Regions from separate parts of the Homo sapiens genome. Here all the other regions are linked to region 7. Evidence: promoter capture Hi-C in 16 types of primary human blood cells and fetal thymus (Javierre and others, 2016). All regions are on one chromosome and are shown on one strand. Each heading gives the region's core, a stretch centred on a gene start or on the middle of the fragment in contact. The rest is flanking DNA. Distances are from core to core; before and after follow the strand shown. Region 1 has its middle 21 kb from the start of EPB41L4A-AS1. Region 2 overlaps STARD4-AS1 (STARD4 antisense RNA 1). Region 3 has its middle 40 kb from the start of EPB41L4A-AS1. Region 4 overlaps STARD4-AS1 (STARD4 antisense RNA 1). Region 5 has its middle 6.1 kb from the start of NREP. Region 6 has its middle 63 kb from the start of EPB41L4A-AS1. Region 7 holds the start of NREP-AS1 (NREP antisense RNA 1).

Evidence for each region. The method cuts DNA at HindIII sites, captures the fragments that hold promoters and counts their contacts. A CHiCAGO score of 5 or more calls a contact.
Region 1: a contact is called between a fragment that was not itself captured here and the fragment with the promoter of NREP-AS1 in region 7, in 3 of 17 cell types (M2 macrophages, M1 macrophages and M0 macrophages). The highest score is 5.7, in M2 macrophages.
Region 2: a contact is called between a fragment that was not itself captured here and the fragment with the promoter of NREP-AS1 in region 7, in 1 of 17 cell types (M1 macrophages). The highest score is 5.1, in M1 macrophages.
Region 3: a fragment that was not itself captured here is called in contact with the fragment with the promoter of NREP-AS1 in region 7 in 1 of 17 cell types (M1 macrophages); the score reaches 5.5 in M1 macrophages.
Region 4: a contact is called between a fragment that was not itself captured here and the fragment with the promoter of NREP-AS1 in region 7, in 2 of 17 cell types (M1 macrophages and M2 macrophages). The highest score is 7.5, in M1 macrophages.
Region 5: a fragment that was not itself captured here is called in contact with the fragment with the promoter of NREP-AS1 in region 7 in 1 of 17 cell types (M1 macrophages); the score reaches 5.7 in M1 macrophages.
Region 6: a fragment that was not itself captured here is called in contact with the fragment with the promoter of NREP-AS1 in region 7 in 1 of 17 cell types (M1 macrophages); the score reaches 5.5 in M1 macrophages.

What each region holds. Positions count from the first base shown.
Region 1 is chr5:112,137,864-112,141,200 of GRCh38, reverse strand. No RefSeq gene overlaps it. Among named protein-coding and RNA genes, the nearest start is that of EPB41L4A-AS1, 21 kb to the left of the region's middle. The HindIII fragment of the contact is 2,507 bases long and covers 402-2,908 here.
Region 2 is chr5:111,695,405-111,698,959 of GRCh38, reverse strand. The region is part of intron 2 of STARD4-AS1 (STARD4 antisense RNA 1); the gene reads right to left. Among named protein-coding and RNA genes, the nearest start is that of NREP, 60 kb to the left of the region's middle. The HindIII fragment of the contact is 5,664 bases long and covers 1-3,555 here.
Region 3 is chr5:112,119,169-112,122,294 of GRCh38, reverse strand. No RefSeq gene overlaps it. Among named protein-coding and RNA genes, the nearest start is that of EPB41L4A-AS1, 40 kb to the left of the region's middle. The HindIII fragment of the contact is 553 bases long and covers 1,283-1,835 here.
Region 4 is chr5:111,675,087-111,678,636 of GRCh38, reverse strand. All of the region lies in intron 2 of STARD4-AS1 (STARD4 antisense RNA 1), which reads right to left. Among named protein-coding and RNA genes, the nearest start is that of NREP, 80 kb to the left of the region's middle. The HindIII fragment of the contact is 2,919 bases long and covers 275-3,193 here.
Region 5 is chr5:111,761,562-111,765,013 of GRCh38, reverse strand. It overlaps a transcript of NREP not described here. Among named protein-coding and RNA genes, the nearest start is that of NREP, 6.1 kb to the right of the region's middle. The HindIII fragment of the contact is 8,270 bases long and covers 1-3,452 here.
Region 6 is chr5:112,095,448-112,098,667 of GRCh38, reverse strand. No RefSeq gene overlaps it. Among named protein-coding and RNA genes, the nearest start is that of EPB41L4A-AS1, 63 kb to the left of the region's middle. The HindIII fragment of the contact is 442 bases long and covers 1,274-1,715 here.
Region 7 is chr5:111,910,583-111,913,879 of GRCh38, reverse strand. It overlaps NREP-AS1 (NREP antisense RNA 1), which reads right to left and starts at 1,372. Exons shown (of 4, transcript NR_046678.1): 1 at 1,160-1,372. It also overlaps a transcript of NREP not described here. The HindIII fragment of the contact is 1,485 bases long and covers 1-1,426 here.

The sequences.
Region 1 (3,337 bases), core at 406-2,905, 230 kb before region 7:
TGCTAGCCTTGGATGACTCTGAAAAGAGAGTGTGGCCATTCGGCCTCTAGGTCAGCAAGGTTTGGTCTAGAGTCAAGCCAGGATCTTAGGGCTGTGGTACCTGACATTACTATATTCCATGTTTGATATTTGGTATTTGGTTGTCACCTAACTGCAGACCTCTTTCCCTAACATCAAAAAGGTACAGAATTCTAACCATAAGAATAAGAATTCTATATAAACCCAAATCACTTTTCAATATGGACCATTTGAGACAATAGATCTTTTTATAATATTAAGGAAAACAACCCAATGAAAGTAAAAGAAACCCTCAGATCAGTATCTATTAGATACAAATGTGCCTCAGAAAGGTGACCAAAAAAATGTTCAGGAAGGGCAACCCTGCTTAATCAATTTAAGCTTTTAAATTACAGGTTTGAGCTGAAGCAATTACTTTATTGATAAATATAGAGAAAATGCCAGCCATTGGAACCACTTAACTTGCATTTGTTCAAAGCACTAAATCAATTAGAGAAAATTTTGTAAAGTTTGGAATTTTACTGTAATGTTACACACACTCAGAATGAAAGGGTTGTTGAATCTGCATATAGATATATATATAATATAGTTACTGTAATGTGACACATACTCCAAATGAAAGAGCTGTTGAATCTGCATATATATATATATATATATATATATATAGTTTTGCAGTAGTTGACTTCCTTCCAAATCTGCAATTTAAAAAAGGAAGAATAGTAACCAAACATTAAAACAATTTTACATCCTTTATCTTCAAGTTTAGTTGAAGATATTTGAAAAGTCAGGATAGTTTTTCGTCTTTAGTGGCTTAGACATGTGTAGAAAACCAGAATATAATTCAGGTATTTTCTACAGTATTATTGTTACTAAGTATTATTCTTTACAAATTTATAGATAACAGCTGCCTCCAATTTTGCTGTCTACAAAGAGATATCCATCTGTGGTGGCTTCCTTTTACTCTTTGAGTTTCTGAATTTTTATATCATAGGCGAACTTTGCTCATATATGTATTTATTTTTAATTTTTTAAAATATCCCTTTTAATTTGGAAAAACTTCAGATGTACAGAAAAGTTGCAGAGTGTATAGCAAGGTCTTGTATATGCTTTACAAATTTCCTTCTAATGTTAACATCTGTAGTGGGCTGGACTGTGGCCCCCAAAATATGTTCATATCCTAACTCCCAGAGTCTGTGAATGTGGCCTTATTTGAAAATAAAAGGTCTTTGTAAATGTAATTAGGTTAAGAATCTCAATATGAGATTATTTTGGGTTGTCCACTGTGGGCCTTAAATCCAATGACAAGTATCCTTATAAGAGACACACTGAAGAGAAAATGCAGGGAGAAAAGGGAAAAGACTAGTTTTTCTACTGATATCCCTTTTCTGTTTTAGGATCCAATCCTGGGTAGTACATTGCATTTAGTTGTCATGTCTCCACAGTCTCCTTGTGGTCCGTGATAGTTTCCTAGTCTTTCCTTGTTTTCCATGATCTTGATAGTCTTAAGCAGTACTGGTCAGGTATTTTGAAGAATATCCCTCACTATGGGTTTGTCTGCTGTTTTGCTCATGATTAGACGAGGCTGTGGGTTATGGGAGAGAGTATCACAGAGGTGAAGTGCCCTTCTCATCACATCATATTAGAGAATATAGTATACCTATCCACATGACTTATCACTGGTGATGTTAATCTTGACCACTTAGATAAGGTAGAGTTTTCCAGTTTTTCTTACAGGAAAGTGACTATAGGTTGAGCTTTCCCTAATCCAAACATTCAAGATTCAAAACACTTCAATATTTGAAATTTTTGAATGCCAATATGATGCCACAAGTGAAAAATTTCATATCTGTCCTTATGTGCTAGGTCCCGGTCAAAATGCAATCACATCACACACAGTTTATTCAGCATCCCAAAGGGAAGAAAGAGACTTGAGCCCTCTTCAGCTGCAATATATATTTTCTGTACATGCCCAGTTTCCTCCATGCAAGCACACAAAAGAAGTGTAATAAAATGGCACATGTGCAGGCCAGACATGCCATTGGCAGGTTCCCCCCAATGCCCTATGTGAGGCCAAGATTTATGTGCATTCCTTACTGTGTTTTTTTTGCTTATTCTATGCTCTGTGGTGTGAAGATATTGTTGAAAATGTCAAAAAAAAAAAAAAAAAACCGCCTGTTTATACCCCTTGGGCAACAGTGGTAAGGAAAAGAGAAAGCATTTTTACTTATCCATAGCACAGAAAGTCAAGCTGTTGAAGAGACCAGGTAGCAGTATAAGTGTGAAACATTTTACAGAAGGGTATAGTATTGCAATGACCACCACATATGACCTAAGAAACAGAAGGATAAACTGTTGAAGATCTATGTGGAAAGTGGTGGACAGAAGTTAATGAGAAATAGAAAAACACTGCATAAAGCTGAACATGAAGATCTTGATCATGTGTGAACAGAGTGAATCCATCAGCACTGCAGTGAACATGTGCCACTTAGCGGTATGGTAATCAGGAAACAAGCAAAGATCTATCACAACGAACTGCAAGTTGAAAGGAACTGTAAATATTCAACAGGCTGGTTGCAGAAATTTAAGACATTGAAGAAAAGACTTGGCATTAAAGATTTGTGGTAATAAAACATCTGCTGCTCATGAAGCAGTGGAGAAATTCATTGACGAGTTTCCAAAGGTTGTTGCTGATGAAAATCTAATACTAGGACAAATCTATAATGCTGATGAAACATCACTGTTTTGATGTTATTGACCCAGAAAGACAACGACTACAGCTGATGAGAAAGCCCCTAGAGGAATGAAAGATACCATGAACAGAATATCTGTGCTCGGATGTGTTAATGCAGCACACACACATAAATGTACACTTGCTGTGTAGGCAAAAGCTTGTGTCCTTGCTGTTTGCAAGGAGTCAATTTCTTACTAGTTCATTATTATGCTAACCAAAAGCCTGGATCATCAGGGACATCTTTTCTCATTGGTTACACAAACAATTTGTACCAGTGGCTGAAGCTCACTGTAGGGAAGCTGGACTGGATGTTGACTGCCAGTATTATTCCTTGACAACTGTTCTGCTCAGCTTTCAGCTAAAATTTTCATCAAAAGTAATGTTGTTTATGCCATGTACTTTTCTCCAAATGTAATTTATTAATTCAACCATATGACCAGGGCATCCTTAGATCAATGAAAAATACATTTCTTGAACAGCATAGTAGCGTGGTGAACAGAGGCAAGTGTGTGAAGGTTTTCAAAAACAGTTTAGCATGAAGGATGCTGTCCATATATGCTGTTACCAACACTTTGAACAAAGTGACTA
Region 2 (3,555 bases), core at 175-2,674, 210 kb after region 7:
AATGAGCTATATACCATGCAAACTTAAGCAAATTAATACCATGTGTCTCTGGGACTCAGTTTTCCCACCTGTGAAATAAGGGTGTGAGGTGGACCATGTTTGGCAAGGGTGGGATATGCAGTTCAACTGTGCTGATGACACCTGAAGCATTTTCACTGTGACTCTAGGCCTGGAAACCCTGGGTTTCTGGGCTGACAACGATGCTTATAACAGGCAACATTGTACAGCTCAAGTTTCTCTTCACCCACTCCTCACTAAGTGATCACATGCCTTAGTTTCTTTCTTTGCAAACAACAAGTCACTGAGCAAACCTTACTGGCTATTTGGTCCAACAGCACAAGCCAGGAGTTCAGAGCCAGGACTAATGAATACCACTGCTGAGTTGCCAGATGGGAGGCAGGGGGCACTGTCGGATGGATGGTGTTCTTGAGAACATGGTTCTTTGCTGAAGACTGAGTGGAAGAAAGCAGAAAGGGAGACCACAGAAAGAGGAGAATACAGCAAAGTATGTTTGATCACCTATGCAGAGACACAGTAAATTGAGAAGCAAATAGCTTTAAATAAGCAGCTAAGTTTCTCACAGATTATAAGAAAAACTGGGCTTCAAAAAATTACCGAGTATTCCCCAAAAATTCACGTTTATGATCAACATTAATCTTCAGATTTCAAGGACTGACCATATGAGTCATCCATTAAGCAAGGATTTCTGAAGCAGCCCTGGGCTAAGGGCTCTTCTAGCTGTAGAAATTGGAAATCAAGATTTCACAGGCAACCCAGGGTCAATGTTGAGAGTTCAGTTTGTGTATTTTGTTGGAAAATATTCGAATACCAGGCTTTCTTCCTGAGACTGGATGTGGGGCAGGGAATTTGGCAAGATTTAGAGTTAATTCAAGTTCAGACACTGGCAGGAGAGCGACTTTGACACAGGAAAACCTTTTTGACGGCTAAATATACAGACAACACTGCCTTTCTTCCCTGAAAAACTTTGATGGTTGTGCCTCATTGAAGCCTTCCAGGGAGATTTAACAGAACAATTTCTTGTGGTTCTGTCTAGCTTTTATGATTTGATGAGTTAAATAGGTCTCCCTAGATGTCATCCTCAACCAAGGAGACTAAAGGAGAGCCCAGGGTAATGCCAGGTCATGTTACAGTATAAGAATAAAAGCCACGGGAGACAACTTGGTAGAAAAATCATCATTTTTTAAACTTTGTTTTTTGCTGTTTTGATGCAAGAGAATCAGTGAATTAGAGAAATAAGCCTGGGCCAACTAAGCCTATTACTACAGGGCCTTTGGCTATTACTTGCTGACAGATTGCTTCTGACTCAAAAATTCAGAAATTGCTCACTATTAACTGCATACTTGATGCTTATGCCAATAATATTCTTTGTTCCAGAAAGTAAAATTCGGAAAACTCTGAGGGGACTTTGAAGTAAACTGTGAAGCAAGTGGCATATCAGCATCCTGGATGCTTTGTGTAATTTTCTCTGTCACCATTAACAAGAAGAATGAAGTACTGGCAACCTGCCAGAGAAATGTTCAGTGACGGTTTGAGCGCTTCGCCTTGAGTGCGTTTGAATGAAGTATTGGATGCCTCCAGAGGTATTTGGGAAGTGAGTGTAGGAAGCAGATTTGCCTGCAGCACAACTTGTCATCTCTTAACTGTGCTCCTACATGCTGGGCCTAGAGGCAGGAGCTTCCTTCCTTTCCCGATTTTACCCTTGCAGTCCTTTCCATCCTCCCACTCCTGTGACCTTTAATGTAGGTCTCTCTATTAAAATCTTCTAGAGAAATAGCATCTAGAAGACAGCCTAGGGTTTCTAGAAAGACAGTCAGTTAAAGATGATGCCACGCTTTGCAGAGGGTTAGGGAGAGTATCAGAGTAAGGAGGAAAGAGGCTGTTACCCTGACATCGACGTCCATCATGTCGTTGTGTTTTTCAACACTTTAGGGCTGAAATATGAATGCATTTTAACATCTGTATGAACACCTGTTACGGGCTGAATTGTGCCCCCCACCCTCCCCCAAGTTCATATGTTGAAGCCCTAGTCCCCAGTACTGTGGCTGTATCTGAAGATAAGGTTTTTAAAGAGGTGGTTATAAGGCCATCAGGAGGGGCCCTAATCTCATATGCCTGGAGTTCTTATGAAGAGAAAGAGACACCAGGGATGCACATGAACAAAGGAAAGGCCCTGTGTGAGGACACAGAGAGAAGATGGCCCTCTGCAAGCCAAAGGGAGAGGCCTCAGGGGAAGCCAAGCCTGCCAGCACCTTGATCTTGAACTCCTCAGCCTCCAGAACTGTAAGAAAATAAGTGTCTGCTGTTTAAGCCACCCAGACTGTGGTATTTGTTACGTTAGCCCTAGCAAGTTAATTCAGCTTTAATGCCGGCAAACTCTCCCACTTTCTGGGTAATTTTTCCTTTTAATTCAAACAATGATGACAATAAACAAACATAATAATAGTCCCATTCTGTGCAATGTGGAAATGTGGTCATACAAGATTCTTCTCTACCCTCCTACTATCTTTAAGTAAATTTTGGAGAATTCTCTTAGGAATGCTTTTATGTTCCATTAAACTACTCGGTCATCTCTGGAACCCCCAGCCAGCTTTCTTGCTCTGGACTGGTATTTTTTTTCTCCCAGTCATTCATCTTTTACCATCTCATAACTTGCTTCCTCCTTAGGTATGGACATTAGATTCTCTCATATGGGCATTGCTAATTCCTTGAAGTACCAGCTAAGACTATGCAGCAATGTTTACCAAAGGATTGTTGTAGTACTGGGCATGAAAGGAGGCAATTAAAATGCAAAAAGAGAATATTAAAAACTGCCTTCTAAAGAGGATATCTCCTAGGAGCTCCTCCTAGGGTTTTTCACAGGCTGTCTCATTCCTTAGGCTTCCTGCATTTTACCATGAAGGGCCCACCTAACCTGTATGCATTGCAGGACTGACCTTGTTTTTTAGCCATTATTGAGGTCTCCAAATTCAACTCAGTCCCAAGAAAAAAGAAGTGTTCTCTTTTATAAACATAGGATCAAGCTATGGCTTATATTCTGCCCTAGATAGAAAGTTGACAGAGGAGAATTCTCCTCCCTTCAGAAGACATCCTCACATCCACTCACAGCACGTGTACTTGCCCACAGCAAGGGAATCCCAGGATTCTGTGTTTCATTTTCAAAGTCTTGCACAAAGTTGTGTAACTAATGGAAATAGTAACACATGACAAGTCACTCAAAATAATCTGTTCTATTACACTGGCTAATTAAAAATTAATTTTAACAAAATTGCAAAATGTCTTTGGCACATGAGAGATGACATTTCTTGACTTAGTAGAGAGCAAAAGAATCATATCTCAGCTTACTGCTTTCCCAAAGATTTTCTTAATGGTGGTTGAAAGTTGTAAACTAAGAAGAAAAAATCCCCATGAAAGAAGAACATTTGGGGATAAGAATACATGTCACTCAAGAGTACATACTTTTCTCACATTCTTTCCAACTTTAATCTTCTAATATCCTCACTATAGTGATGACAACCACAACACAGATTTCCTGAC
Region 3 (3,126 bases), core at 310-2,809, 210 kb before region 7:
ATTGGTAGGATTTGGAAAGGGTTTTTTAACGAAAGCCTCAGGAGAAGTGTCCACTTATATTTTGGAGCATGGACTGAATAGATTAGTCAAAAAGTGGTCAGAAAAATAAGCACTTATTTTTCTTAGTACTCATGTGAGGGCAGAGGGCTGAAAGCAAGAACACAGCCATGTTGCCTAGGAGCCAATTGTAGCATACTGCTAAGCATAGACTATTTTTGATAAATGTTAACCATCTTCAAGATGATAAAAAGATAAGGAAGACAAGCCATATTCTTTCTTTTTATAGGACCAATCAATATCATTTTGTATTTCAACCAATTAACATGCAAAGAGGGGATTCCAAAGAGATACGCAAATATGTTTCCACAAAGAAATCCAATTTAGAAGCAAGAGATTTTAATGTCCTTGCTGGTCACGAGGTCAGGGTTGTATCTCCAGTCAACTGTATCAATTAGTATTGCTCTATATGTAAAACGACCTAATTAAAAAAACCCACTTCCTTAGAGAGATGTGGAAAAGGACACAAGTAATGATTCAAAGAGGCTTTGAAAAGTAGGCAAAGCTACTGTAATCCGTCAGAAATGTATTGACAATTTAGGGTATATTTATCATATCTTCTGTTCAAATGAGCTAAGGACTCACGATGTTGCTTGGACTGTAAAGAAGAATTTATATAAGGTCTAATACGTGAAACTTGTCTTGACATTCAAGTAAAAAGATGTTTAAGGCAAATGAAAGTGCAGGCAAAAATAGGACTGGGGAAAGGGATGAATCACACAGTCAGAGCTGTAAAGACCGTCAGGGGAACAAGATGGATGAGGTCAGCTTGAGAGCTAAGTTGGGAGCCTTGGAGTCAAATGGGAGATGCTATTTCTCATCCCAGCATCCCAGGAAGGATTAACATTCCAGGACTGGAATCATAAAAGTCTCTAAGTATGATGCAAAGTCAGTTAAGAATGAACTAAAACTTGGGCAGGGTGAATATATGAGTAGTAGATGTTGAGGGTGGAGATAGCAGAATAAGTAAAAACTGCAGAAAAACTACACGGTGATTTTTGACAAAAAGTGGTGACAGTACTATGAATACCTGGCAATGAAATAAGCAAACCTGCAAAGCAGGTTCACTGTGAACTAGATATCAACTTGTCTGAGTCTGGTGAGACGAGACACACACACAACACACCACATGAAGCAAGTTTATTACTTACAGATAGGTAGGAAGGGACAACAGAAGTGTAGAATTCATTGCAAGTCAGTCAGTCCCCCAAGGCTTAGGAAAGCTTCCTGTGGAAGATGGAGTCTGCTTCATGTGCCCTATTTGCACTGCAGCTAAGGGACCCAGGAAAGCAGCCCTCACTAGGTTTTATACCCCAGGGTTGCTAGACTCACTGGGCTAAAGCACTGAAGGGCATCCTGTTTCTGGGGGACTGGAACAGAGCCCAGGATGTGCTGGCCAGTATCTCCCTATTTCAGGATGTTACATTCTCAGCACACCCTATCGCTATTCTTGAGAAATAGAAGTGAGAAAGGAGGGATCAGCACAGGGCCAGTCCAACGTGCTGAGAGCTGTCCTGCCAAACCTACCAGATCTAATGGACTTAACAACTTGACTGTGTGTCCACATGAGTGTGAACCAGGAGGCAGGTCCAGCACTCAGTCTCACCATCAACTAGGGTGCAGCCACATCCCACATGCTGGCTAAGAAGGGAGTCCAGGAAGTGGGCATGGAAACTACAGCCCTTGCTTACTTCACATTTCCCTGGAATCTAAGGAGCATGGTAACTCTGTGAGCATTCTTGAAACTGGAATTTTGTTAGGATGATATTTGTTAAGCTTTGTCAGTTATCAGTAGTGAAAATTGTCGGAAAGAAAATGAAAAGCATCATTTGCTTGTTTCAGGGACAGGTAGTATGGGAGAAGTGGGGTGCAGCAGGGTGTCTATCTCAGTCTATAGGGAGAATCGGGGGAGAGAAGTGTCTATAACAGTGATTCTCAATGTGGGTGTGGGGGATTTTCCCCATAAAGGAACATTCTGTAATGTTTAGAGGCATTTTTTATTATCTTGACTGTGGGAGGACATGCTACTGACATCTGGTGGGGAGAGGCCAGGGATGCTACTAAGCTACACTGCACTGGACTACACCTCCTACCTACCCAACAAAAGATTACTGGGTTCAAAATGACAACGGTGTGGAAGTTGAGAAACCCTGGTCTAGAGGAAAGTAGATAGTTCAGCTGAAAACAAGGGAAGTGAATGAGTCTCACCACCAGGCCTGGTGTGAGAAATGGGTGAACTGGGACCCAGTGGGAGGGGAACTGGTACAAAGAAAATAATGTCCCAGGGATGGGAGTAGGGTGGTGTAGAATAGAGTGGGGAGTATTTGGAGGAACATCCTACATTCCTTAACAAATGTATCTGGAGGAGAAGCCAACATCTGTTACTTTAGAGGGGGAGTTAATCTTTTCCCAGTTCCTTTTCTGGAGAGATTTGTGGTCAAAATAATTCTTGTCTAGTTAACTCGCTTTTACCATCTTCAGAGCCAGAAGGAAGAGATAAGATCTACTTCTTCTTTTAGGTCTCCTCTACCTTGAGCAAAATCTTTGATTAACGCTGTTCCTCCCTTGAGCTATCCTTTGCTTCTGTATTTCCTTTAATGGCCACTGAGTGGTTTATGCTTAGTGCCTCTAGTTTCTCCTAGCACAGTCTGTCGTTACCATTCCACTCAGCCTATTCAGTGAAGGTCATTGGTGTCCTCCTCCCTGCTCCACCCAGGCTCATTTGAATAGTTCTTACCCTGACTGCTTCTGTTTGGCAGTTGGCACTGTTGTTTACACTTTTTTTTCTTGGAATTCTTACCCTCCTTTATTTATCTACACCCTTCTTGCTCCACTTTTTCATCCCCAAATCCTTCTCTTGCTTCTTTCCTCACTCAGTGCTTACTCTGGGTTCCCATAGCTATAGCTCCTGTCCTACTTTCTTTAATATATTTTGCTGGCAATGTCACTTCTTCACCCTCCTCCATCAACTCATTATGGAAAATTCTTTTATCTAAAACCATTAGTCCTGTTTTTTCTAAGTTACAGACTGTTAGTGCCAACCTACTGAACAATTCCACTTCACTTCCA
Region 4 (3,550 bases), core at 485-2,984, 240 kb after region 7:
TGAACCTAGACCTGACTGTAGAAGGAAAAAACACAGGGGCCTGCTGGCCATTCCATGAGATTGCCAATTGAAGCAACAAACAGTTGGGCAGGAAGGTACAAGGGAAAAAGGAAAAAATGGCACTGACCACTGGGCTTCCCAACACGGTGAGCACAAGCTGGACATCTGTCCATGATGGAGGTACCACTGGCTACCCTGAGTGACAGCCTGGCAGATGATGACATGAGCTGCAGGAGACCTTGGTTTAACCAAGGGATCATCATTCTAATAAGCTTCTTTCTAAGCTCTGCAGCAAAGGGTTAAAACTAGGGGGTGGAGAATAGGGAAAGATCCTTGAGATAAGGATGCTCTGGGGTTAAAATGATAAACTAGAGTTTATAAAAACTTCATTGAACTAAAAATATCACTGTCCTAGACTAAGTTTAACCTGGAATGAGAAAGAAGATAAGGTATCTGTTCCAGAAAGATTTTGTAGCATGTGTATGTGTGTGATAGGAAAAAGGCTTGAAGAAGAAGAGGGGAAAGACCAGGAAAGGTTATGTAGTATGAGAATAAGGTAGGCTCTATGCTTGCACAGATTTCCCATCTGCTGTACATCTTCTTTCCTCTCTTTGTTCCTAAGGAAACTTCTCTGTCCCCTTTCATGGAGTCATAACAATGGAAGAGGTTCAGGAGAAAGGAATCAGCTCCTTGCAAGGTAAAAAGAGTTAAGAGGGTTTTTTTGTTGTTGTCATTGTTTGCTTTTAAATACTATAATTTTAAAACAATGTACTGGGAAGAACACTGCAAATGGAATTCAGGAGATCAAAGAAACCTGGGATAAATATCTCGAATTCTCTCAGGCTCAATTTCCTACTCTATAAAGTCTGGTATTTGGTAGCATTAGATGACTTCTAAGATTTCCTCCATTATACTTACATTATAATTTCTGCTCTACTTCATGAACTGGAAGGGACCTTAGGGCCCGTCAAAACCCTGAGCCAATATAAGAACATTCTCTGGGATAATTCACAAAGTGTGTTACATTTTATGAATAAGTGTTTTTAATGCCTTAGTATAAATTGGTACTTTTTTTAATATAAAGGAATTGTGGACCAGAAGAGTGGTTTTCTTCGTCATGTTACTAAAATTGAGTTCCATCAGTTTTGTGTGCGAGTACATTATTTATCCACCAAAAACCTCAAAACTGGGGCTACAAGCAGAGTTTCTCAGAAGTTCCTTGTAAAGAAGTATAAGGGCTAAGCCATTGCTACACCTTTGCCAGGTGATGTTCAAGGATAAATGCTTTTAGGGTTGGGGGGTTATGCTAGTGGCAACAATAGAGATACCCCTAAACTGCAGGTGCTCAATAACTGCAAAATTTTGTTTCTTGCTCATGTGAAGTCACGTGGGTCAGCAGAGCTCTCTACTATCCAGTGACTCAGGGGTGAAGGCTCTCTCCATCTTGTCTGCCAGCACTTCAACATATGACTTTAAGTTCTTCTGATCAGGAGGAAGAAGGATACGGGAGACACAGCAACAGTTAGGAACCTAGGACCAGAAGTGCCATGTCACTTCTGCTCTCATTCCTATCTGCCAGAACTCTGTCACATGGTCCCAACCCAGCTGAAAGGACCTGGAAAATGCAGGAAAGCACATGTCTATTCAGTGGGCACGAGTTGTCTCTGGATGAATTGATGCAATCAGGGACATAAAGCCACCAAGTGAGAGCAATTCCCTGCCTTGTGTGTTTGGAATAAATGACCAAAAGTCTTGGTTTTTAATCTGTGGCTTCTTTAAACTATTTTTATTCTAAAAAACACTTAGTTTTGAAAAACTGAGGGAACTTTGCTAGGAAGTGTGTCTTCTAAACTCTTCTTCATCACATCTGGAGAGGGAGTTGCCTTTAAGTGGCTGCATCACACTGTTGATTCATCATAAAGTTTAAGCCAACAAAAATCCCGATTTAATTGTTGGGAGAAATTGCTGCCAAGCCAGACCTTCAGATCCTGTAACTGTGCCATTTATTTTGCTTTAAACCTAAATGTAAGACTTTATATTTATTCTAAGTGTCATCCTGTTATTTTCAGACAATTGCTTCAGCCTTCTGAATTTTTAATTCAGTCATCTACTGTAATATCTATTTCTTCAATATTTGCATCATACAGCAATTTGGTGAGCATATCTTCTGTGTCTACATCCAAGTTCTTGAAAAACTAGGCCAAGGGCAGAGCCCTCCAATAGAACCAGAGACCTCCCTTGAGAGGCATCACGATTCATTAATAAACACAGTGGGTTTATTTGTTCCACTAGCTTCAAATCCTCCTTACCTTATTATCAACCAGTTCACATTTCTCCAATTTCTCAAGGACTTTTAAGATTTCATAGCACATCTAGATGAAAACCGAACTCGTTATCTCCCTTCCTAAGCCCCCTCCTTCTCCTGAATTATCTACCCATTAATGGCACCACCATTCAGCCCACTGTGCCAGCAATCTGGGAGCAATCCCACAGTCTCTCTCCTTCCTCTCCCTGAGAAGTGAACTTGAGTCAGTCCTGACACTTCGCAACTGGGGCTGCCATCCCCTCAAGCCTGTACCACTGCTTCCAAGGTTTTCTGTGGGTCTCTGGGCATTCCTCCTCCAGTCTATCCTCTTCATCTTCACTCAGTGATCTTTCAAAACACAAGTCACATCATATTACACCCTCTGATGAAAACCCATTGAAACTCCCCAGTATAAGGAAAATGTTAAAAATATTTAACATGTAGTTTGGCATAGGCAATGACCAAACAGAAGGCCAGCAGGGCTACTCCAGATGGAAAGCAGGGCACCTTCTATTCTCAGATCCTAAATGTTTCTAGGTGGCACCCTTCCATCTCCTCAGCCTCCATGCAGAGGTTTCAGCAGACCCCACATTTGCATCTGAACACGCTAGCTCTGCTTTCTCAACTTTCTCAAAGCTCCTCCCTCAACACAGAAAGGGTCTTTCTCCTCTGAGGCAGGAAAGCATTTTATACATTCAACCCCATGCCCTGGTTTTTGGTAGAAACTGGTCAGTCTTCCAGGTTTTACTCTATTGAAGCAGAGCCAAGGTTTTAGAATTTGAAAATAAATGAAATAAATAAAATAAATGAAATAAAATAAAATATATAAAACAAAAGATAAGCTCCACTCCCTCTCCCCCAAAGGCCAGGTGCTTAGAAATTAAAGCTTTCCAGGCTTTCTTTTTATATTCTCAGCCAGTAATTTGACTCTGTTCTGGCTGGATTCTTTTGTGTCTTTTCTTCTCTGAGGCAATCAGCCTAAGTTTCTCTGCCTGGTTAAATGGTGAAAAGACCACAAAGTAAAAAGATTTTCCGAGAAACAAGGTGACTTCTCATAATATTTCAAAATATCATCCCAATTCTTTGTTATTCCATGCACCTATACTACAAAATTCAGCTTCATGTAGGCAGGGTCCACTATTTGATTCATCTCTGTTTTTCCAGTGCCTGGGACATATTAGATGCTCATTAAATATTTTTTGACCAAATGACTAAACCAATGAACAAAGATAGACAGTATTAACA
Region 5 (3,452 bases), core at 692-3,191, 150 kb after region 7:
CCTATGTAACGGCCTTCATTTTTTTCTACCTCTGATTCTCATCTGTGAAATAGGAATAATAAAATCAGGTTCTCATAGCTTGTGAGATACATACTGAAATATTTTTACAAGTTAGAAAGTGCAACAAACATATGAAATTACTGTTAAATGCAAGCACCTTCATAATTCTTTATATGTGTACTTCTATGAATTCCAGAGGACCATACCATCTAATGTCTGAAGTTTCTGTCAGGGGTTTACCTTCTTGGGTATCATTACAAGAATAAAAATACTACCCTAACATTTGAAAAGAAAAACCTCCTTATTATTATGTTTTTAAGAACCTCATTCTAAAGGCAAAGATCTTTCACCTTTGATATAGTTTGGCTGTGTCCCCATCCAAATCTTGTCTTGAATTCCCACGTGTTGTGGGAGGGACCTGGTGGGAGGTAATTTAATCATGGGGGCAAGTATTTCCCATGCTGCTCTCGTGATAGTGAATAAGTCTCACAAGATCTAATGGTTTTATAAAGTGGAGTTTCCATGCACAAGCTCTCTCTTTGCCTGCTGCCATCCACGTAAGATGTGACTTGCTCCTTCTTGCCTTCTGCCATGATTGTGAGGCCTCTCCAGCCATGTGGAACTATAAGTCCATTAAACCTCTCTTTCTTTTGTAAATTGCCCAGTCTCAGGTATGTCTTATCAGCAACATGAAAACAGAATAATACAGCCTTCAATCAGCCCTTTCTTTTTGGGCCAACCCCCTCCTTCCATCTCTGCCTCTGAACTGAAGCAACTTCACAACTAGTGGTCAGCTGAAGAAGGTGCCTAAATGGAGCACCTGAAAGCATAACCCTGGATGCTGCAGGCCCTATTGAATCCTAAGTTCTGAGGCTAAGGTCAATGGAACAGGATAGTATTTTGCCTAGCTGTCAAGATGCTTAAGTTAACTTCAAAATTATATTTAGTATGTATGGAATTTGTTTTAACCATGGCATCATATCAGGGGATATGTACATATAGAGGTTTTTTTTGTTAATCCACCGTTTGGTTGGTAAGACAAGCACTACCTTGTCTATAACCAGACAGTATATATGTTATCAGCTTCTTAGAGCATGTTTCTGCATTTCCCCAGTGTTACAGAAAATACCCATTTATAATTGTAAAATTCAAAAAATTCTTCCAGGGGGAACAAACATTCTACTTTGTTAATGCAAATTCGTTAACACAAATAAGCATGCGCGTGCGCGCACACACAAACACACACACACACACACACATACAGACGTACTGGGATTTTAAAATAATTTCTTTTTCTTGTTTTAGAACAGCATTAACTACCAGTATTATTTTTACAGTTTTGTACCATGATGCAGATCAGTTTTAAGGCAAGAAGGAGGATAATTTTAAAATGTGTTTCATATGGTCTGTTTTGCGTGGTAGGATAATCTGGATAAATCTTCCTTTGAGACATTCCTTTCGTTTATCTCTTTGTTTCTGCAACAACCTCCTTGTTCTTCACCTCCAGGAGGACAAACTTGACTTTTCCAGGGATTTACAATTATTTCCAGGTGTTGAGTAAAATACAAGATTGAAAGCACCATAATTTTCAAAAGTTCCTCACATCTTACATTTGTCCTTTATCTTTTAAATGCTCTGTTCATCATATTTTATAGAGTCATGTAGGTTGTAAGTCCTCCTGTGTTTGCTTTTGCATTCATATTTCACAATTTGCTAAGTTTACATCTATTTTTCCTCCTCTCATTGTCAGCATCCCCAGTGTCAATGGCTGAGTTCCTGATATTTTGTGTTCCTCCCTGAGACTTACTGAATCGTCTAATACGAAGACACTGAGCATACTCTTGGTGTGGGTTTCTCAGTGATGAAGGGGAGAATCTCTCATCTGTGCTGCCTTCAGCAGCTGTGTAAATACAGCTGGAAACTTGAAAGTGGACAGGGTCAATTGTAAATCGGTTTCCTTTCCCTTATGTGTTTTGGAATGCTGTTCTGAGAAAAACGAGCCGTGAATTTTAGTGGAGCCCTCCTGACTTCAACTTTTATACACATATGTAAGCAACCTTCTGGGTTTGGATAAAGCCCTGGACGTATAACTTCTTTAGCTTCAGGCTCTTCCTCAGACTTTGCATTGTAGAATATCCGAAACCTCATAACAAATGCAAATACTACAAATCCTTTACTCTTCCACATGTTTGCTGCAAGGGCGGTCTATTAGTTTCCCACGGTTGCGATAACAAAGTACCACAGACCGGAGGGCTTAAACAACAGGCATTCATTTCTTTACAGTTCTGGAGACTAGAATTCTGAGATCTAAGGTGTCACTGGGGTTTGTTTCCCTGGTGTTAGATGTGTTTCTTCCCACATCTTCGTGTGGTCTTCCCTATGTATGTGTCTGTGTCCTAATCTCTTCTTAGAAAGACACTGGTCACTTCAGGTTAGAGCCCGACCATATGACCTCATTTTACCTTAATTATCTCTTTAAAGACCCTATCTCCAAATACAGTCACATTCTGAGGTACTGAGAGTTCAGATTTTAGCATGTACATTTTGGGGGTGGTGTGTGGGGGGAGGGGACACAATTCAGCCCATAACAGGAAGGAAGCATGAGGAAAAGGGAGCTGGTGATAAGAAAATTACTCAAAGATAGCTACTGGAACATCATTGAATATGTGTGTTATACATTCAACAGGTATAAAATTGAACTCAGTGTCACCCACTGATCCTCCCATAGACACTTTTCTTCCTGTATTTTCTGTTTTAGGAAATCCCATCATCATCCAAGCAGTCACAAAGCCAGAATCTAGAATCATCTTAGACTCTTTTCTCCAGCTAATCTCCTGTGCTTTCTGAACCCATAATGAGTCCTGCAATTCTAACTCCATAATGCAACTTGACTCCTTCCCTCTTTTCCTTTCCCATGCCCTCCATCTTAATTTGGGCCATTCATATTTACTCATGTGAATTACTCTAATATTCTCTGAAATTGAACTCATTTCCTCATTTCTGCCCCTTCTCCGTGCTCAAATCCATCCGCCAAATTACTCTCAGAATAACCTTCCCTGGAAAAAAAAAATCTTGTCACTTTCAGATTACATTTCTTCTACAGTTTTGCATTACTTTAAGAATAGCATTCACATTTCTTAAGCATGAAATACAATTCTTTCCCTTCGGTCTGATTGGTTGAACTTAGGTCACCTGCTTATTAGCCCATTATCAGATCCAATTCAATACACTGATTGGCTAAGATAATTAGAATCTATTCCTTGGCGTCACCTTCCCTGGATCTAGCAGGCTGTATGGGAGGGATGGAGACCAGGACAAAAATCAAGATTTCGTTGAGAAGGAAGAAAGGGATAATGGATGTTACATATGCGATCAACAATGTATCCTGCGATCTGTTCCTTCATGGAATTTATAGTCTAGTGGTGAAGACAGAAAAATAAAGTCCAAGTTCA
Region 6 (3,220 bases), core at 245-2,744, 180 kb before region 7:
AAACACACACACACACACACACCCCTGGAATGACCTTTCAGTTTCAAAGCCACATTTAGATACAGCTTTTATATATATTTCTGAGGGAAAAATTGAGGTGGGAAAAAGGAGGGAAAGAAAATTACTGGTTATACTAGAGATAGATTACTGGAATTTAGGTACATTTACTTAGAGTCATATTTTGGCACAATCACTATAGCTGTCATTGATCAGGTCTTCTCAACTCAGAGATGTACAGGGTTTTCAATATTTGCATTTTGTATTGCACATTGAGTTGTAATTATTTATTATATTGAAACCTTCCACAAGTAATGATAGTGAGGCCTTAAAAATTCTAATGTCTGTGTAGTGATAATGAATAGATTAATTATGCCACGTCTATTGAACTGTGTCACAGAAACCAAACTTGTAAAAATGCAGGCTTAAACTTTGAGATCACAAGTCTGTATCAGCAAGAGTACTTTGATTGCAGGTAACACTAAAGCTGAGGTAAGCAATAGAGGAGACTTAACGGTTTATGTAACTGGAAGTCCCGAGTTAGGGCAGACTTAAGATTGGTTTGATTCACCAATTCAAAAATGGCATGAAGGGCCCCTTTTCCTACCGTTTTCCTTTCCTGCTTTCTTGGTTTCATTTTTATACTAAGGTGGAGTGCCGAAAAGGATGTTGAAACACTACAAAATGTTATGACTGCCAGCTACTCCCAGGATCACAGGCTTCCTCATCCAAATCCAGACAGAGAGGGAGAGAGCTGGCTTCTCAGAGCTCTCGTAGAAATGCGTCCATCAAGTATTTCTGTTATGTCTGAGAAATCATGATTTTTCTAACTTTATTTTTTTATTATTGACATTCTACCTCAAAAGTTTTTCCTTTCCTTCCCTCCTTCCTTCCTTTATTTTTTGTCTTTCTTCCTTTTTCATTTCAATATGGATTTATAGATTATTATTTTATCCAATGTATTATCATCTGCTATGATCATTATTTATTTTAATGCTCAAACTCTCCCAGTTTTGGTCATACTTTGAGCACTTCTTACTTTCTGAAACAATGAGATGTTCTCAGCTCATTTTGTACTTTTCCTATCCTTGCCTTGGAATCAGTCATTTCTCCAAGGTAGTCCTATTCCTTTGAGTGGAGAATAGTGTTTAGAATTTAAGATCTAGGCAGCCACATGTGCTTGTTGCTACTGAGTTGTTTTTAAATCTAGGCCCTCTGTCAGAAGGTGGAGGGAGGGAGGAGGGAGAGGACCAGAAAAAATAATGGGTACTAAGCTTAATACATGAGTGAGAAAATAATCTGTATCACAAACCCCCATGACACAAGTTTACCTATATAACAAACCTACACATGTACCCCTCAACTTAAATAAAACTTAAAAAAATTCTAGGCCCTCTTAGAAACTTAGATAAGAAACACACACACTCACACTCACATAATTTCTTAAAAGATTGATGATATCTTAAAAGGTTTTAGGGTCAATTTGCTATTTAATTGTAGTTGAAAATGAAAGGCAGTTTATTGATCTTATGATTCTAGTTTGGCAAAATATATGTAAAATGAACCATTAAATACCTTTAACCAAGAATAGAATTTGAGCCCCTCGAATGATGTGTCTGCACTTAAAAACTCAACAAATGATCTATTTGTGACTTACGGTCACTAAAGAACTAAAGATTAGACCTGGGCCATCGATGTTAACCAATAAAAACAAAGCTTTGTTTATATCTATATATCTATGTGTGTATCTATTTTGGTATGTGACCGTGAAATAGATTTGAAGTTATCATGTCCATTTTACAGACAGGAAATCAGAGAAGACCCTTAGAGTTTTAGTTACAGTCTTACTAGGATATGCTTTCTGATCATTAGTTCAACTTGTGTTTCAGTCTTTGCTGCTTTGTGAACAATGCAATTTTCCAGGACAACCCCATCATTTTAAGCAGTGAATACCTTTTACACGCTTTCTTTTGGTAACTGCAAATGTCTTGTCAAGGAGTCTAGCTCACTGAGGCTTTCAGAGGCTAGTCAGTATACAAAGTTGTAAAAAAAAATTTGAATCCTGAAATTTAGGAGGCTATATGCATCTTCTTGATATGTACCTCAACAGTGTTTGTCAAGCTTAGGGTCTTCTGCATGGAGTTAGGAAGGTTTCTTAGCTTTCCTTCCAGGAACACTTTCTGGTTACTCATTGGCCTAATTCATAATTGTGTGTTCCAATTTTAAGCTATAGGTCGTGCTTGGTATCAAGTCACAGGACATGCCCTGTGGTGTTGAAATTTGTTAGGAAGTTAGATACGTGGTTCTGTGGAAGTAAGAAATGGCATATATGAGTGATACAATTAATCACAGACGCATAGGCTTCCTTTTTGAGAGAATTTAAAAGATTTTTAAATCCACAGGTACTCCTCTTTCAATAAAGAATCAGTTCAGGATAAAGTTGTAGAAGAATTTCTTCACTCCCTGTGGAGCAGATTTAGACAGCCTACCAGGGGCAAAGTTGGCTTCCTGTATAAAAGGGAAAACATTTTTCAAAGTCTTGTATTTAGATCTTAAGGATTACCCAGTTGACCTAATGCTAAATGACAAGTTAATGGGTGCAGCACACCAGCATGGCACATGTATACATGTGTGACTAACCTGCACATTGTGCACATGTACCCTAAAACTTAAAGTATAATAAAAAAAAAAAGGATTACCGAGTTGAAACTTCTTAATTAAAAGCAGGAAGCAAATAATGTGCTAAAGGGTGGTAGAGAGATCCAGGAGATATAAGAAAGAGTGGATATTTATAGCTTTCTTTATAAAAGAAAACGTGTAAACTACTTGAACCCTCTTAAAACACTTCAATCTAATTAACTCTCACCATTATATTTCAGTGAGATTAATTTAGAAATATTCTTAAGTTCTATATTCAAAAGAAGAATGAAAAAATCCATAAATTATGGTTGACTTGTGTGTTAACTGAATTCATTTAGGGTGACTCTGTTTAGTAAGTATATATTACATCTCTAACAGGTACTAGTCACAAGACATTAAAATTTTTTTATTTTAATTTTTGTGGGTACATAGTAGGTGTATATGTTTATGGGGTACATGAGATATTTTGATACAGGCATGCAATGCATAATAATCACATCATGTAAAATGGGGTATCCATCCCTAAAGTATTTATCCTTTGTGTTACGAACTACCCAATTATACTTTAGTTATTTTGAAATGT
Region 7 (3,297 bases), core at 123-2,622:
ATTAGGTAACTTTTAAAAGCTGATGTTATTTCAGGGTGGAATTCTCTTCTACTTCTCTTATCCTCTCATACCCTTAGTTTTTTGTAGTAATAGCCTCATCCCTATAATCAAATCCAGAGACGGGGAGAAGGTAGAGCTGGGAATTCATTTTTCTCCCTACAAATCTTAATTATTCCTCAAAATATTTGTGAAGTAGGAAAGCATGTTTTCAGCACCCATTCCTCACTATCATCCTCTTACCCAATTGTCTGATTAGTTCCTCCTTTTATCTTTTGTTACTGTCTCATCTGGGCATTTAGCCTCCTCATTTTACTCTTCAGTCACTTAGGACCCTGAACTATGAACTCACATCCCTGTTAATCTGGGAAGATGTCTATCCTTTGAATCTTTTCAACTTCCTTTTCTCACATCAAAATATAGTGATGCTGGGTTCCATTTATTCAAGGTCATTCTTTTTCTTCTGCTAGGAAACAGCTAGATTATCTTGCAACCTAGTCTGCTGTAATGGATTAATGAAAGGCAATGTGCTAGTTCCTTATCTCCTGAAAAACACCTGAAAAATTTTAGAAGGATATTTTATAAGACCGCTTTTAAAATGAAGTAGTGCAAAATAGCAGAAAGAGTAAAAGAATTTAGAATTTGAAATTAGAGTGACATGGGATCCATGACTCCTATTCATTTCCTAAGAAATCTTCTACAAATTACTTAACCTCTCTGAACCTTCTATCCTGCCTTTACTGTAAAAAATGGATACTAACACTTACCTTCAACTTTTGTTGTGCTGTAAAATGAAAAATTGTAAAAGTACTCAAGATATTGGCTGCTGTACAGTAGGTGTCTTACACATTGTAGCTAATAAGTAAACAATATTGTAAGCCAAATAAGTGACTCAAAATCAATTACTGGTCAATGCTAATAATCTTAATGAACAAATATTTCTTAAACACTTTGTGTAGGAAGAAAAAAATACAAGTGGTACCTATGAAATAATATTCTACTTTACCTAGGCACGATGCCAGTTCTTCTCCAGCTATTCATCAAACAACCAACTATTCCTTCATTTATTGATTAACTTATTCATGTACCTATTAAGTGCAGAAGGCTGGACTGGGTAATATGAAGAATACAAAGATGTATACATAATCCTGTATTGACTTACTGTTGAATGTGACAGAATATTCAGGTATTTTGGATAGGTTAGAAAGATATCTTGATCCTGTCTTCAGTTATTAGCCTAATAAGAATGGAAACAGCTTGCAAAAGTAAGACGCAAGTAGGGTAGCAGCAGGCTCATCTGGGGAATTACTGGTCTGAAGTTTGGGCACAAATTATTGGAGCCAAAGAAGAGAGAAATCTATATCCTTTAGGAAAGTTGAAGTAAAGATCATTTTCAGAGATACAGATAGAATAGATTATGACTCAAGCTTCAGTGGCAAGGTGTGTATACAGTCACAATATATAGAAAACAGACTAGTAGTCAAGGGCACCAGGGGACAGGGCAGGCAAGGTGCAGGGTGGATGAAGTGAGGAGGGTCAAGAAGTAATTCAGATCTGTCTGAATTATAGCAGGGCAGACCCTAGCTCATTTTGCCAGGGTGGGTTTTAGTCACTTACGGAAGCCACACCATTCTGGATGAGGGAATTGGGGAGAAGAGCATGATGAAAAAAGGGTGCAAGGAAAATACTGGAGAATGTTACCATACGAATGTGTGCACAAGATGAAAGAAAAATTAAACTGGCCAACAAAAGTTCAAGGAATGCTCTAATTTAAATATTAGATATTCTAGCATAAAATTTGCAATTCAAGAGAAGCTGGTTCTCCTAAATTTACATCTTTATAAGGTAGACAGACAGGAATTTATATTTTGTCTTTGGCACTTATCAATCGTGTACCATTAGACAAATTATTTAGCCTCCCCACAACTTAGTTATCCCATCTGTAAAATGGGGTGAAGACTAGTACTTGCTTATAGGATGGTGGTGGGCACTACCTGAAATGCTGTGTGTATATGGCTCAGCACAGTGCTAGGTACATAGTAGGTAGGCAATGAGTATAAATTATTTTCGGTTTGGATTCTATGTCTATGCAGAGGTCTCCTCAAGCTTTTGCAACTTGTCATATAATTGGTGTCTATTTTTATGTCTTTTAGATGGTCAAAAAAATAGACCCTCTCACCAAAGTCAAAAAGAGGTCAGATTGAGCCTGAATAATAGTAGCACACTTATGAGTCATTTAATTTCTTTGACATCTCCTTTTCTCATCTAGTTGTGAATTATTTATGACATCTGTGCTCTTGGGAAGAAGTCCAAGCATATAACATATCTCCAGCTCACTCCTGGAGGGTCTTTCCAAGGCCCAGGGTTTCTGCCACTTAGTATGTGCTTACTCAATATTGTCTTGATTAATGGCATTGGAAGTAGAGATAATAGCAGTGCAGAATTAATGGGCTAGATACTTTGTTATTGAACACAATTGTGTAGGGTTGAACTAACAAATAGGTAATGCTTCTGCAAAGTGTGTAAGTAAAAAATATAAAATAAGTAAATAGATTATATATTCATCAGTCTATTTAGAAAAACTTACTGAGTAGCTACTATGTGTCAGACACTGTTCTATGCACTGGTAATATCCAGAACTCTGGATGCAGATATGATATCAAGAACATTGGGTACAGGGGTGATATCCAGATTGCTGGGTGCCGGGGTGATATCCAGAACACTGGGTGCAGGGGTGATATCCAGATTGCTGGGTGCAGAGGTGATATCCAAAACACTGGGTGCAGGAGTGTTATTGAGATCACTGGGTACAGGGTGATAGCCAGGATACTTGACAACCAGTGTCCCTAGAGCATTAGTCAGAACTGACAGTGGTGGTGCTCAAACAGTATCCTGGAGGTGCTCTTCTCTGCCAGGTATGAGCCTTCTGCCAGGTGATGCCTCTCTGAAGCTTCTAGTACCAAGAAGGGGCTGGAGCAGTAGGAGATCATTTGGAGGAGTCACAATAGCAGCTATCCATGAACTAGTCAGAAATAACTTAATATTTTGAAACTTTTGCTTTAATAAGCTGAGCAAACTCTCGCTTCTGGCTGTGACCAAGATAGATAAGGTCCCTTATCACAGGGCTTCCTTTTGGAGGTAAACTTGGTGGCATCAGAGGGTTTCTGTCCTGGGGGAGCTTTGAGTTTGTTCCAGTCTCAGAAGCCAAGTTCCTCAGCTCCACAGCCTGGTGCTTTGATAGTGCCCAAATCTTCATGCCTAAACCCATACTCGGCAAGCATTTTTTATCCTTAGCACCTT